2 separate regions of the Homo sapiens genome follow, and region 1 is linked to region 2. Evidence: promoter capture Hi-C in 16 types of primary human blood cells and fetal thymus (Javierre and others, 2016). All regions are on one chromosome and are shown on one strand. Each heading gives the region's core, a stretch centred on a gene start or on the middle of the fragment in contact. The rest is flanking DNA. Distances are from core to core; before and after follow the strand shown. Region 1 has its middle 77 kb from the start of SLC25A36. Region 2 holds the start of NMNAT3 (nicotinamide nucleotide adenylyltransferase 3).

What was found. The method cuts DNA at HindIII sites, captures the fragments that hold promoters and counts their contacts. A CHiCAGO score of 5 or more calls a contact.
Region 1: a contact is called between a fragment that was not itself captured here and the fragment with the promoter of NMNAT3 in region 2, in 2 of 17 cell types (total B cells and M2 macrophages). The highest score is 6.4, in total B cells.

Annotation. Positions count from the first base shown.
Region 1 is chr3:140,861,958-140,868,097 of GRCh38, forward strand. No RefSeq gene overlaps it. Among named protein-coding and RNA genes, the nearest start is that of SLC25A36, 77 kb to the right of the region's middle. RefSeq lists an enhancer at 1,901-1,950. The HindIII fragment of the contact is 1,403 bases long and covers 2,390-3,792 here.
Region 2 is chr3:139,675,301-139,681,614 of GRCh38, forward strand. NMNAT3 (nicotinamide nucleotide adenylyltransferase 3) reads right to left here and starts at 2,672. Exons shown (of 7, transcript NM_001401600.1): 1 at 2,405-2,672. RefSeq lists a silencer at 2,726-2,775. The HindIII fragment of the contact is 2,876 bases long and covers 1,245-4,120 here.

The DNA.
Region 1 (6,140 bases), core at 1,841-4,340, 1.2 Mb after region 2:
ACCAGTGGAATAGAATAGAGAACCCAGAAATAAACCTGTATACCTACAGCCATCTGATCTTCAACCAACCCGATGAAAGCAAGCAATGGGAAAAGGATTCCCTGTTCAATAAATAGTGCTGGGATAAATGGCTAGCCATATGCAGAAAATTGAAACTGAACCCTTTGCTTATACCATATGCAAAAATTAACTCAAGATGGGTTAAAGACTTAAATGTAAAACCCAAAACTATAAAAACCCTGGAAGGCAACCTAGGCAATATCGTTCAGGACATAGGCACGGGCAAAGATCTTATGATAAAGACGCCAAAAGCAAACACAACGAAAGCAAAAGTTGACAAATGGGATCTAATTAAACTTAAGAGCTCCTGCACAGCAAAAGAAACTATCAACAGAGTAAACAGACAATCTACAGAATGGGAGAAAAATTTTGCAAACTATGCATCTGACAAACATCTAATATCCAGCATCTATAAGGAATTTAAACAAATTTACAAGAAAGAAAAACCACTAAAAAATGGGCAAAGGACATGAACAGACACGTTTCAAAAAAAGACATACATGAGGCCAACAAGCATATGAAAAAATACTTAACATCTCTGATCATTAGAGAAATGCAAATCAAAACCACAATGAGATACCATCTCACGCCAATCAGAATGGCTATTGTTAAAAAGTCAAAAAATAACAGATTCTTGCAAGGTTTTGGAGAAAAAGGAACACTTATACACTGTTCATGGGAGTGTAAATTAGTTCAAACATTGTGGAAGACAGGGTGGCGATTCTTCAAAGACCTAAAGACAGAAATATCATTCGACCCAACAATGCCATTACTGGGTATATACCCAAAGGAATATAAATCATTCTATTATAAAGACACATGCATGTGTATGTTCGTTGCAGGACTATTCACAATAACAAAGACATGTAATCAACCTAAATGCCCATCAATGAGAGACTGGATAAAGAAAATGTGGTACATACACACCATGGAATACTATGCAGCCGTAAAAGAGAATGAGATCATGTCCTTTGCAGGGACATGGATGGAGCTGGAGGCCATTATCCTAAGAAAACTAACACAGGAAGAGAAAACAAAATACCACATGTTCTCACTTATAAGTGGGAGCTAAATGATGAGAAAACTTGGACACGTAGAAGAGAACAACACACACTGGGACCTATCGGAAGGTGGAAGGTGGGAGGAGGGAGAAAATCAGGAAAAATAACTAATGGGTACTAGGCTGAATACATGGGTGATAAAATAATCTGTACAACAAACCCCCATGACACCCACTTACGTATGTAACATGTACCCCTGAACTTAAAAGAAAAGTTAAAAATAAATTAATTAATTAATTAATTACCAAGCCTCAGGCATTTCTTTATAGCAATGCAAAAATGGCCTAACACAGAAAGGACACAGTCCCTGCCCTCAAGGGGAATGTCTAGTAGGAAGGCAGTCAAGCAAAAAAGAGTAGGACCCCAGGACCACCAGTGCTCTAACAGGGACACACACAGAGAAAGGGCCCCACACAGCCTGGCAGGGGGGCAGTGGCAGGGTGGGCTCCTCATAGGTGACCTTTTAGCTGAGTCCCCAAGGATGAAAAAGAATAGCCAGATGGGGGAGTGGATAAGGGGTTGTCCAGGCAGAGGGGCCAGCAGGGACAAAGCAATGGGTGTGTGGGAGAGTGTGGAGAGGAGAGGGGAATTAAGTCACCTGAGAAGATTAGTGGCAGGAAGTGAGACAGGGCTAGGGTGTAGGGACTTTGTCCTGAGGACTTTAAGAAACCGGAATGAGCCCCCAGGGAGCAGAAGTGGAGGGCCTAGTAGCCCAGAAATCACAAAATGAAGCCAGACACCCAACCTGCGAAGGACACAGTGGCAAGTCCCATTCCGTCCTCTGGAAAGCGCCGAGATTGGTATCCTGAATTATTGGTTTTGTGTCGCCACCTGCTGGCAAATTTTAAATTTGGTTCAATCAAATATTCAAAGAGAGAAACTTAAAAAAAAAAAAAAACAGAATAATTGCAGGCAACTTCCTTGAAGTTACAAAAGACCAAGTTAGAGTAAAACTTATTATAAAAAGAATATTATTTGAATTTAATTCAATAACAGGAGAGGAAAGCCTCACCTGAGATTACTGGGTTCAAAACCAAGCTCTACTACTTACCTGGTAAAATCACTTCACTTATCTTACCTTGACGTCCATAAAGTGAGATAATATTTTCTCAACTCACAGTTGTTGAGGGGAATAAAAGACATCAAGTGTGTAAAGAGCCTGGCACGTGGTGGAAATCCAACAGGATTTGGGGTTAGGGTGGTGGAAAACCGGCTTTGCACATGACCTATGGCCACCTCCTGCAACTCCTCCACTTCCTGTACTGGAAAGCTTCACTTAATCCTTTAGGTCTGAGACCTCAGGGAATGACATAGCCCCACACATGAACCACAGGCCAGGACAACTCCCTGCTCCCTTTTCCACTTTCTTACAGACCCCAGGAACTGAGGTGTCCCTTTCTGTGTTTCATGACCTGAACACTTGACCTGGCTGCCGTATGGGCAAAGGTTTTTCCATCATGCCTCTTCCCAAACCTCCTGTGAAGCCTGCTGATACCTGACTAGTTGATAATCCTAGAAAAACAGACAGGGAGCAGCAGAAAAGACAGATGGGGGAATGAATAACTAAGCTGAAGAAATCTTTTGTGTGTGTGTGGGTTCATACTACAGGTATATGTGTGTATGTATGTATCTCATGGGTTACATGAGATATTTTGATATAGGCAAATAATACAGGCATTTATTTTTTGTGTTACAATCTAATTATATTCTTTTAGTTATTTTTACATGTCCAATAAATGATTGTTGACTGTAGTCACCCCGTCGTGCTATTAAATACTATATCTTACTCATTCTAGCTATATTTTTGCACTCATTAACCATCCCCATTACCCTTCCCACTAGCCTTCTCAACCTCTTGTAACCTACCTTTTACTCTCTATTTCCATGAGTTCAATTGCTTTAATTTTTAGCTTCCACAAATAAGTGAGAACATGCAAAGTTTGTCTTTCTTTGCCTGGTTTGTATCACTTAACATAATGACCTTAGTTCCATCCATGTTGTTGCTAATGACAGGATCTTATTCTTTTTTATGGCTGAATAGTACTCCATTGTGTGTATGTACCACTTTTTCTTTAGTCATTCATCTGTTGATAGACACTTAGGATGCCTCCAAATCTTGGCTATTGTGAATAGTGCTGCAACAAAATGAGAATGCAGATATCCCTTTGATACACTGATTTCCTTTCCTTTGGGTATATACCTAGCAGTGGGATTGCTGGATCATATGGTAGCTCTATTTTTAGTTTTCTGAGGAATCTCCAAACTGTTCTCCCTAGTGGCTGCACTAATTTACATTCCCACCATCAGTTTATAAGGGTTCCCTTTTCTCCACATCTTCACCAGCAAGTGTTATTGCCGGTCTTTTGGAAAAAGGCCATTTTAACTGGGGTAAGATGATATCTCATTGTAGTTTTGATTTGCATTTCTCTGATAATTAGCGATGTTGAGCAACTTTACATATACCTCTTTGCCATTTGAATGCCTTGTTTTGAGAAACGTCTATTCATATATTTTGTCTATTTTTAATTTGATTATTATATTTTTTCCTACAGTGTTGTTCGAGCTCCTTATATATTCTGGTTATCAATCCATTGTTAGATGAGTAGTTTGCAAATATTTTCTTCAGTTCTGTGGGTTGCCTCTTCATTTTGTTGATTGTTTGCTGTGCAGAAGCTTTTTAACTTGAAGAGATCTCATTTGTCCATTTGTTGCTTTGGTTGTCTATGATTGTGGATATTACACAAGCAATCTTTGCCCAGTCCAGTGCTAGAGAGTTTCTCTAATGTTTTCTTTCCATGGTGTCATAATTTCAGGTCTTATATTTAAGTCTTTAGTACATTTTGATTTGATTTTTGTATATGGTGAGAGATAGAAGTCTAGTTTCATTCTTATGTATATGGATATCTGGCTTTCCCAGCACCATTTATTGAAGACACCGTCCTTTCCCCCAGTGTACGTTCTTGGCAACTTTGTTGAAAATGAGTCGATTGTAGATGTATGTATTTGTTTCTGGGTTATCTATTCTGTTCCATTGGTCTATGTGTCTATCTTTATGCCAATACCATGCTGTTTTGGTTACTACAGCTCTGTAGTATAATTTGAAGTCAGGTAATACGATTCCTACAGTTTTGTTCTTTTTGCTCAAGCTAGCTTTGGCTATTCTGGGTCTTTTGTGATTCTATATAAATTTTAAGATTATTTTTTCTATTTCGGTGAAGAATGTTACTGGTAGTTTGATCAGGATTGTGATGAATCTGTAGATTGCTTTGGGTAGTGTGGATATTTTAACAATATTGATTCTCCAAATCCATAAACATGGAATATCTTTCCATTTTTTTGTGTCCTCTTTGATTTCTTCAATCAATATTTTACATTTTTCATTGTAGAGATCTTTCACTTCTTTGGTTAATTCCTAGGCATTTTACAGTATTTGTAGGTATTGTGAATGGGATTACTTTCTTAATTTCTTTTTCAGCTTGCTTGGTGTTGACATATAGAACTGCTACTCATTTTTAGATGTAGATTTTGTATCCTGCAACTTTACTGAATTTATCAGTGCTGAGTTTTCTTGTGGAGTCTTTGGGTTTTTCCAAATATAAGATTATATTATCTACAAACAAGGATAATTTGTCTTCTTCCTTTCCAATTTGAATGTTCTTTATTTCTTTCTCTTGTCTAATTGCTCCAGCTAGGACGTCCAGTGCAATGTTGAATAACAGAGGTGAAAGTGAGCGTTCTTGTCTTCCTACAGATCTTAGAAGAAAGTCTTTCAGTTTTTCCCCATTCAGTATGATACTAGTTGTGGGTCTGTTTTATATGACTTTTATTGTGTTGAGATATGTTTCTTCTCTACCCAGATTTTTTAGGATTTTTATCATGAAAGGATGCTGAATATTATCAAATGCTTTTTCAGCATCAATTGAAGTGACTATATGATTTTTGTCCTTCATTCTGTTGATATGATGTGTCACATTGATTGATTTGTGTATGTTGAAGCATCTTTGCATCCCTGGAATAAATTCTACTTGGCCATGATGAGTGACCTTTTTAATGTGTTGTTGGTTTTGGTTTGCTAGTATTTTGCTAAGGATTTTTGCATTAATGTTCATCAGATATATTGGCCTGTAGTTTTCTCTGATGTGTCTTAATCTGGTTTTGGTATCACAGTAATACTGGCCTGGTAGAATGAGTTAGGAAGTATTCCTTCAAAATCTCTGATTTTAATTATTTGGGTTGTCTCTCTTTTTCTTTTAGTTTGCTTCCTCTGACTGTATATTGTCAAATAGGCTATCTCCGAGCTCACTAATTCTTTCTTCTGAAAGATTAAGTCTCTTGTTAAGAGACCCCGATGCATTCTTCCGTATGTCAGTTGCATTTTTCAACTCCAGAATTTCTGCTTGATTCATTTTAATTATTTCAATCTCTTTGATAATTTTATCTGAGAGAACCTTCAATTCCTTCTCTGTGTTATCTTGAATTTCATTGAGTTTCCTCAAAACAGCTATTTTGAATTCTCTGTCTAAAATGTTACATATCTCTGTCTCTGCAGGATTGGTCCCTGGTGCTTCATTTAGTTCATTAGGCGAGGTCATGTTTTCCTGGATGGTCTTGATGCTTGTGGATGTTCATCAGTGTCTGGACATTGAAGAGTTAGGTATTTATTGTAGTCTTCATTGTCTGGACTTGTTTGTACCCATCCTTCTTGTGAAGACTTCCCAGGTATTTGAAGAGACTTGAGTGTTTTAATTGGTTTTTGGTCACTGCAGCCATATCTGCATTAGGGTGCACCCCAAGACCAGTAATGCTGCGCCTCTTGAAGACTCATAGAGGTACTGCCTTGATGATCTTGGATAAGATCCAGAATTCTCTGGATTACCAAACAGGGACTCTTATTCTTTTTCCTTACTTTCTCCCAAACAAATGAAGTCTCTCTCTCTCTGTGCTGGGCTGCCTGGAGCTGGGAGAGGGGTAACACAGGTACCCCTCTGGCTACCACCACTGAGACTGTTCTGGGTCAGA
Region 2 (6,314 bases), core at 1,422-3,921:
GAGCCAGAACGGTCTCAGGCAGTTACCATGCTCAAAGGGATGGCAAGGGTCTGCAAGGTGCAGTGGCAGCCCCCTGCAGGGAACCCCCACTCAGCCATCAGTTAGAGACACATCATCAAAAAGACCATTTTAGACCCTTTTCAACCCTAGTTTTCTCCAACTTTTGCTACGCTTTCTTTGGCCTGAGTCTACAAAGACACTGGGGCTTTCTGGGGCTTTCTGACAGTGCAGCTGCCCAGGAGGCCCTTTATCATGCAGAACACCCCTCTCTGCTGCCAGGCTCTTGCTTTATGGCAAAACCACTGCAACAGATAATCTAACCCCCTGACTAATCACCCTGCACAATTCCTCATACTGCCTCCACTCCTATCCCTCTCCCGCCTCTGCCCTGTCTTGTTTCATCAATTTTTGTCCAGACTAAGGAACGATATCAATAGTTATAGTAGTAGTATCCTCCCACATGTCAGGTACTGCTCTATGTATTTTAGGTCCTCATTAAATCCCCATAATAACCTTCTGAGGTAGACACTACAACTATGTATATTTTAGTTCATTCAGGAGAAGGAGAGGGTGGGAGTTAATATTTCTTCAGGGCCAACGATATGCTAAGCACCTGTTAAGCCTGAGCAATCCTCACGACTCACAAGGTGAGTGAGCTGCCCAGGGTCAGTCACAGAGCTGAGAAGTGCCAGGTCTGTGACCACCAAGCCTGGAGCTTCCCTTCTCATGGGCTGGCATCCTGCAGTGGTCTGAGAGGGGAAAAGAGAGGCTGCACAATGGCTGCTCTCTCTCCTCTTCCCTCCAACACCCTCTGTTAACATCATACCTGTTCTTTTTTACCACTCCCCACAAATGGTGCCAGACTCCTGCCTCATCTGGGTTCCCCTACTCTCTGGGCCTCTCAGTTGGTTTTCATGGAGCACTTTCTTTGTCTACAACAATGTTGTGAACAGAGCCAAATAAGAAATTGGGATCATTTGAGCCAATAAAATACAGTGAGCAGCTGACAGATGTTTCCTGAAACCTAAAATGCTCTCCCAAATCCATGGGGTCTCAAGGTCTGACACGTCCTTAGCAAGGTCCCAGCATAGTTGCTGCTTCTGGGAAGTCTTCTGTCCAGTTTTAAGAGGTGACACCAAAAGCTGAGAACCACCAATGAAATTCAAGAAGTAACTGATGCTCAGTGGAGCTGTGTGAACCATACCTTCAGGGGCTCCTGGGTGGCTTTCTGAGAAAAACAGAGAAGCTTTCCCCTGCAAGGCCAGTGGGTAAGAACCCTTTCTCTGGGTTGTGCCAGGGTGGAACTGTCACTTTATTTCACCTGGCCCACCGGACATGGGCTCCAGGAGGGCAGGGCCCCTGTCTGATTTCTCTCTGAATCCTCAGAGCCAGGGTAAAGTGGGCGCCAGTTAAATGTTTCAAGAATGAACAACTAAACCAGTCATCATTTTAGAGAACAGGCTGTTTGAGAGATTCTACTCAGAACCACTTATTTGATAGAGGAAGAAACAGGACTCAAGGAGAGGGGAAGTGACTTTGCTGAGAGGCAGGCACACTGTGTTTAGTCCAGAACAACATCAAGCCTTGGATGTTTAGTGCAGAGTAACATCCAGCACCCATCACGCAGTGCTAAGTCATTTACATTCACCATTTCCATTCTCAATGGGTAGAACAATCCCATTTTACAGAGGAGAACGTTAAGGTTAAGGAACTTGCTTTCCCCCCAGCTCTCTGCAGGCCAGCCCCACCAACCCTCCTTTCCTCAAGCCACATTCTCTCCCAACAAAATGAGTTTGCTCTGTTGTTCCCCGCCCGGGAATTCTCTAAAGTTTTAGTTCCAGCAGCCTTTGTAGCTGGGGGCCCTGATAAAATCTCTCCAGCACCCTAGAATTTCAATCTTCATAGCTCTGACCACAGTTTTAACGTTCACACTTGTTTGCATAGATATCCATTTGCTGTCGGTCTCCCCCCACTGGACTGTGAGCTGCACGGGGGAGGGCACCACATTTTTTGGCCTGCTACTGTAACCCCAGCACTTAGCCCAGCAGCGGACACTGAGTGGAACACGTTAAGTATTTGTTAGACACTGTGCTTATATTTTTAACCTTTGAGTGCACGAGTGCTAAAGGTGGGATCCGAACCCACGTCTCCGGGACTCTGGTCATAGCCAAAGGGGAGCTGGGGGTTAGGTTGACACGCTGCAGCGAGAACCGCCGGCGCGCAGAGGCAGCGCGGAGCTGTCCCCCCGGTTCGCGCCACCCCGGATGGCTCCGCACTCCGCCGCCACCTGTCGCCCCAGCGGGGACTCCCAGGACTCAGTTAGGGGCCAGGAGTCACGTGGGCCCGGGCATTCAGCCGCGATCCAGGTCCTAGTGGGCTGACGAGGGGCCCACGCTGCGCTTACCTGCTATTTGCAGGGCTCAGCAACGGCGCTCGGCGAGTCTCGGGGGACTGCGGGGGACTAGGGGACCTGCTGGGCCTAGCAGGGGCTGTCGGTCAGCGCGCGGCCCGGCGCCCGAGGTCCGAGAGGGAAACGACGTTTGGTCTCGGGACTCAAGGCTGCCTCCGGCCCGGGCAGCCTCAGGTCTAGATCCCCTAGTACCTGAGCTGGAGGCGGGGCCAAGGCGAACTTGACCTTGCGCTCCCTTAGCGGCCCCGGGCAGATGGAGTCTGAGGGAAACAGATCTGCGCCCCGCCCCTTCGCTGGGGCGGGCCCTAAGGAGACCCGGCCCTGGCCCCGCCCAGGGTCCTAAGCCCCGCCCTCTCCCCTGCCCCCGCCCCCGCCCGCTGGCTCCCAACCGCCAAGGCTCTTTTGTGTTGCGTGCGTGTTTGCTTTTTTATTCTCCTGTTTTGTATTCTGTTTGTTTTGTATTTTTATTTAATTTTCTTTTAAAAAAATACATGAAAGTAACGCCCACTTACTTATTAGAAAATAAAATTATCTAGATTTGCTTATAATGAAAGCAACAGGCCACTTCTCCCTCCCATCACAGCTCTTTTTAACAATTCCTCCGTTAATTTCTTCTAGTGGTCACCCGCTTGTCGCAAAAAAAAAATAAATAAATAAAATAAAAAAATAAAAAAAGAAACTTACATAGCGATTTCTTGATTTATCCATTGACTTTCTGCCATGTTATATGAGGATCTACTCTCTTACTGCGCGGCCCCTGTTTCCTTCTGACAAATTTACACCTCTATTCTCAAGCCCTGCCCTGGTAAACGCCAGACCTCAAAGCAGGGAAGGATTTCTGGGGCCTGAAGCATACACAGTTGTGTGGGGAGAAGGAAGGGAGGGCTGCTTAAGAAAGAGAAGACAGAATTAGGGCTTGCCAGTGAACATTTATTTGGAATGAGAAAATAAATCTTAACAGAATCCTGGGGTCTTAGAGATTGGGGTCCCTATCCCCTAAAACCTTCTTAGGAAATTTAGGTCCCAAATTTGCTTCCCTAACGCAGTCTGGCTTCCTCTGCCCACCCAGAACTCTCCATAAGCCCCCAGGGCTCATGGGAGCCTTGCAGAGAGAGGCCTTGAAGGACAAGATTCACTAGATTCTGCCAATACAGTTTCCTAATGGAGTGAATTGGAGTGTGCGAAAAAGAGAGACATCAAGGATGATGTCAAGGTTTTTTGATTGCTGTACACTTAATTTCCAGCGTTTCCTAGACACAGGAACACAACCTCATCTTAGTATGGAGAGTGTTTTATAAGCCTGTCCACATCACCAGAGCCTCACGGTGCACCCATGAAGTTGGCTGGACGGGTGCACTGTCCACAGTTTTAGGAGGCCCATAAATTTGTCCCTTGTGTATTAGCACCGGGGGCATGCAACTTGCACCCAATAAGTACCCAGGTAAATGGTACTTCCCCACTCAGTCTGAAGACACAGTGTCCGTGCCCTCTCGGATCCCTTTTCTCTTACCTGTGGTGTAAAATGTGGCTCCAGAAGGTGATCTTGGACAAGTCTCTTTACTTCCCAAGCCTCACTTTCCTTTCGTATAATGGGAGGTAACAACCCCTACCGCACTGAGTTTTGGGGAGGATTAAGTGGCTTAACATCTTTGGATATTCTTTAATTGATAAGTCAGCTTATTTCCCAGCAGGGTGGGAGGCTCATGAGAAAGCTTAGGGATTTCTGAGAATCTTGTGTAGCATGTAGTACCACAGGTTGATTAGAGGCCTTCGATTAAAATCGTGGGCTGAAGAGTCATTCTGGGTCAGGGCCCTAGGCCAGGGAGGGAGAAGCTGCACACAGAGAGCAGAGAAGAGGCTGGGCAATGACTTCCTCATGCAAGGGAAGCTTTCTCTGCCTGAGGTAGTGAAGACTAAAGCTTGGTCTAGGAGGAAGCCTGGTTTCCTAGGCAAGAAAAAAGGAATGAATTAATGGCATTCACAGCAACTGGATGAGATTGGAGAGTGTTATTCTAAGTGAAGTAACTCGGGAATGGAAAACCAAACATGGTATATTCTCATAAGTGGGAGCTATGCTATGAGGATGCAAAGACATAAGAATGACACAGTGGACTTTGGGGACTCAGAGGGGAAGAATGGGAAGGGAGTGAGAGATAAAAGACTACAAATTGGGTTCAGTGTATACTGCTCGGGTGATGGGTATACCAAAATCTTACAAATCTCCTCTAAGGAACTTACTCATGTAACCAAATACCACCAGTTCCCTAATAACCTATGGAAATAAAAATATTTTTTTAAAAAAGTAGCGTCCCCTTGTGCTGGAAGGTAAGAACCTCATATAATAGCCAAGCTTTACCTAACCTAAGCGGTGAAGACGCAATGGCTGAGAAATCCATTTTGGAGAGGCAACTACCTCCTAATTTTTTAGAAGGAGGAATACCTAAATGCAAGTCTTGTATTTGCTTAAGCTCACAAAAAGACTACTGGATTATGGGTATAATGGGAATAATATTTTCAGATCTCTCCTTTATTGGTAAGTTTCATTTCTCCTGGATCCTATCTGCCATTATGGCTCAAGGAAGGTGGCCACCTAATGCCACCTCAGGAAGGAGGAAGATTTTACATAGAGGATGTCTCAGCTTGAGTGCCTCAGAACCAGATCCTGAGGTAAGAATTAATGCAAGTAGTTATTTGAGAGGTACATGGAACACCAGCAGAGTAATGAAGAAGCAATACAGGGAAGAAAAGGGGAGCTCAATAAAAGATTAAGCCAGCTACTATAATAGATGTTTAGGGCTTAATCCTAGGGGAAAACCCTAGAAAACTGTGTGAAGAGCATGCCTTGGAATCATCCCACCCAAGGCTGCAGGAGACAGGTCTCTACAGGGAAAAAAGCTGGAACTGACCACTTAGCTCATATTTTTGAACATTTAAAACATTATTTCTAGGCATAAAAATGTCATTACTAAAATGAGATCTGGCTACAGTATAACACTATTCTGCAGTTTCCTTCTATCACTTAACAGTGTGCTGATGAAGTTTCAGGAGGAACTCTTTGGGCAGTAAGCAATGTGCAGATGGCTGAGAGTCACAGTCCTGGGATGGACCTGAGGCCATTCTGGAAAGCTTGCTTGTGGATGGATTGTGATGAGGCCGTAGACTGGGGCAGCCTCTGTATTTGGATGAACCTATTCTAACCTTGACTTCTGACCTGTCGCTGAGGAAAAGCAAGCTTTGAGTGGGTAAAAGTAAAATGTAAAAGGGAGACTGGTGGACTTTTCAAATGACCAAAGAGGGCAAACTTTTCAGTCACTGCAACTACTTCAGCAGATGGGCATTTTCTTTTCTTTTCTTTGAGATGAAATTTCACTTTTGTAGCCCAGGCTGGAGGGCAGTGGCGTGCAACCTCCGCCTCCCAGGTTCAAGTGATTTTCCTGCCTCAGCTTCCCAAGTAGCTGGGATTACAAGCGCTCGCCACCACGCCCAGCTAATGTTTGTATTTTTAGAAGAGACAAGGTTTCACCATGTTGGCCAGGCTGGTCCTGACCTCAGGTGATCCACCCGCCTTGGCCTCCTAAAGTGCTGGGATTACAGGCATGAGCCACCGTGCCCGGCCAGGTGTTTTCTTACAAACAGTGAACAGATAGTGCTCATGCCAGATCTTTCTTATACAAGCATCAAAGCAGGTCCTCACTAGAAAACCTTCACTTTGTCAATTTGGCTTCATGGCTATACTTACTATTGAGCTAAAATTATCCTTTTAAAACGTGAATCAGTTTATAACACTCCTCTGCTCAAAAGTTTCCAGTGGCTTCCACCACAATTAGGGTAAAATCTCAAGTCCTCCCCCTGGTGTGCAAGGCCCTCAAGGATCTGCCCTGACAAGTGCTCCAGCTGTCAGCCA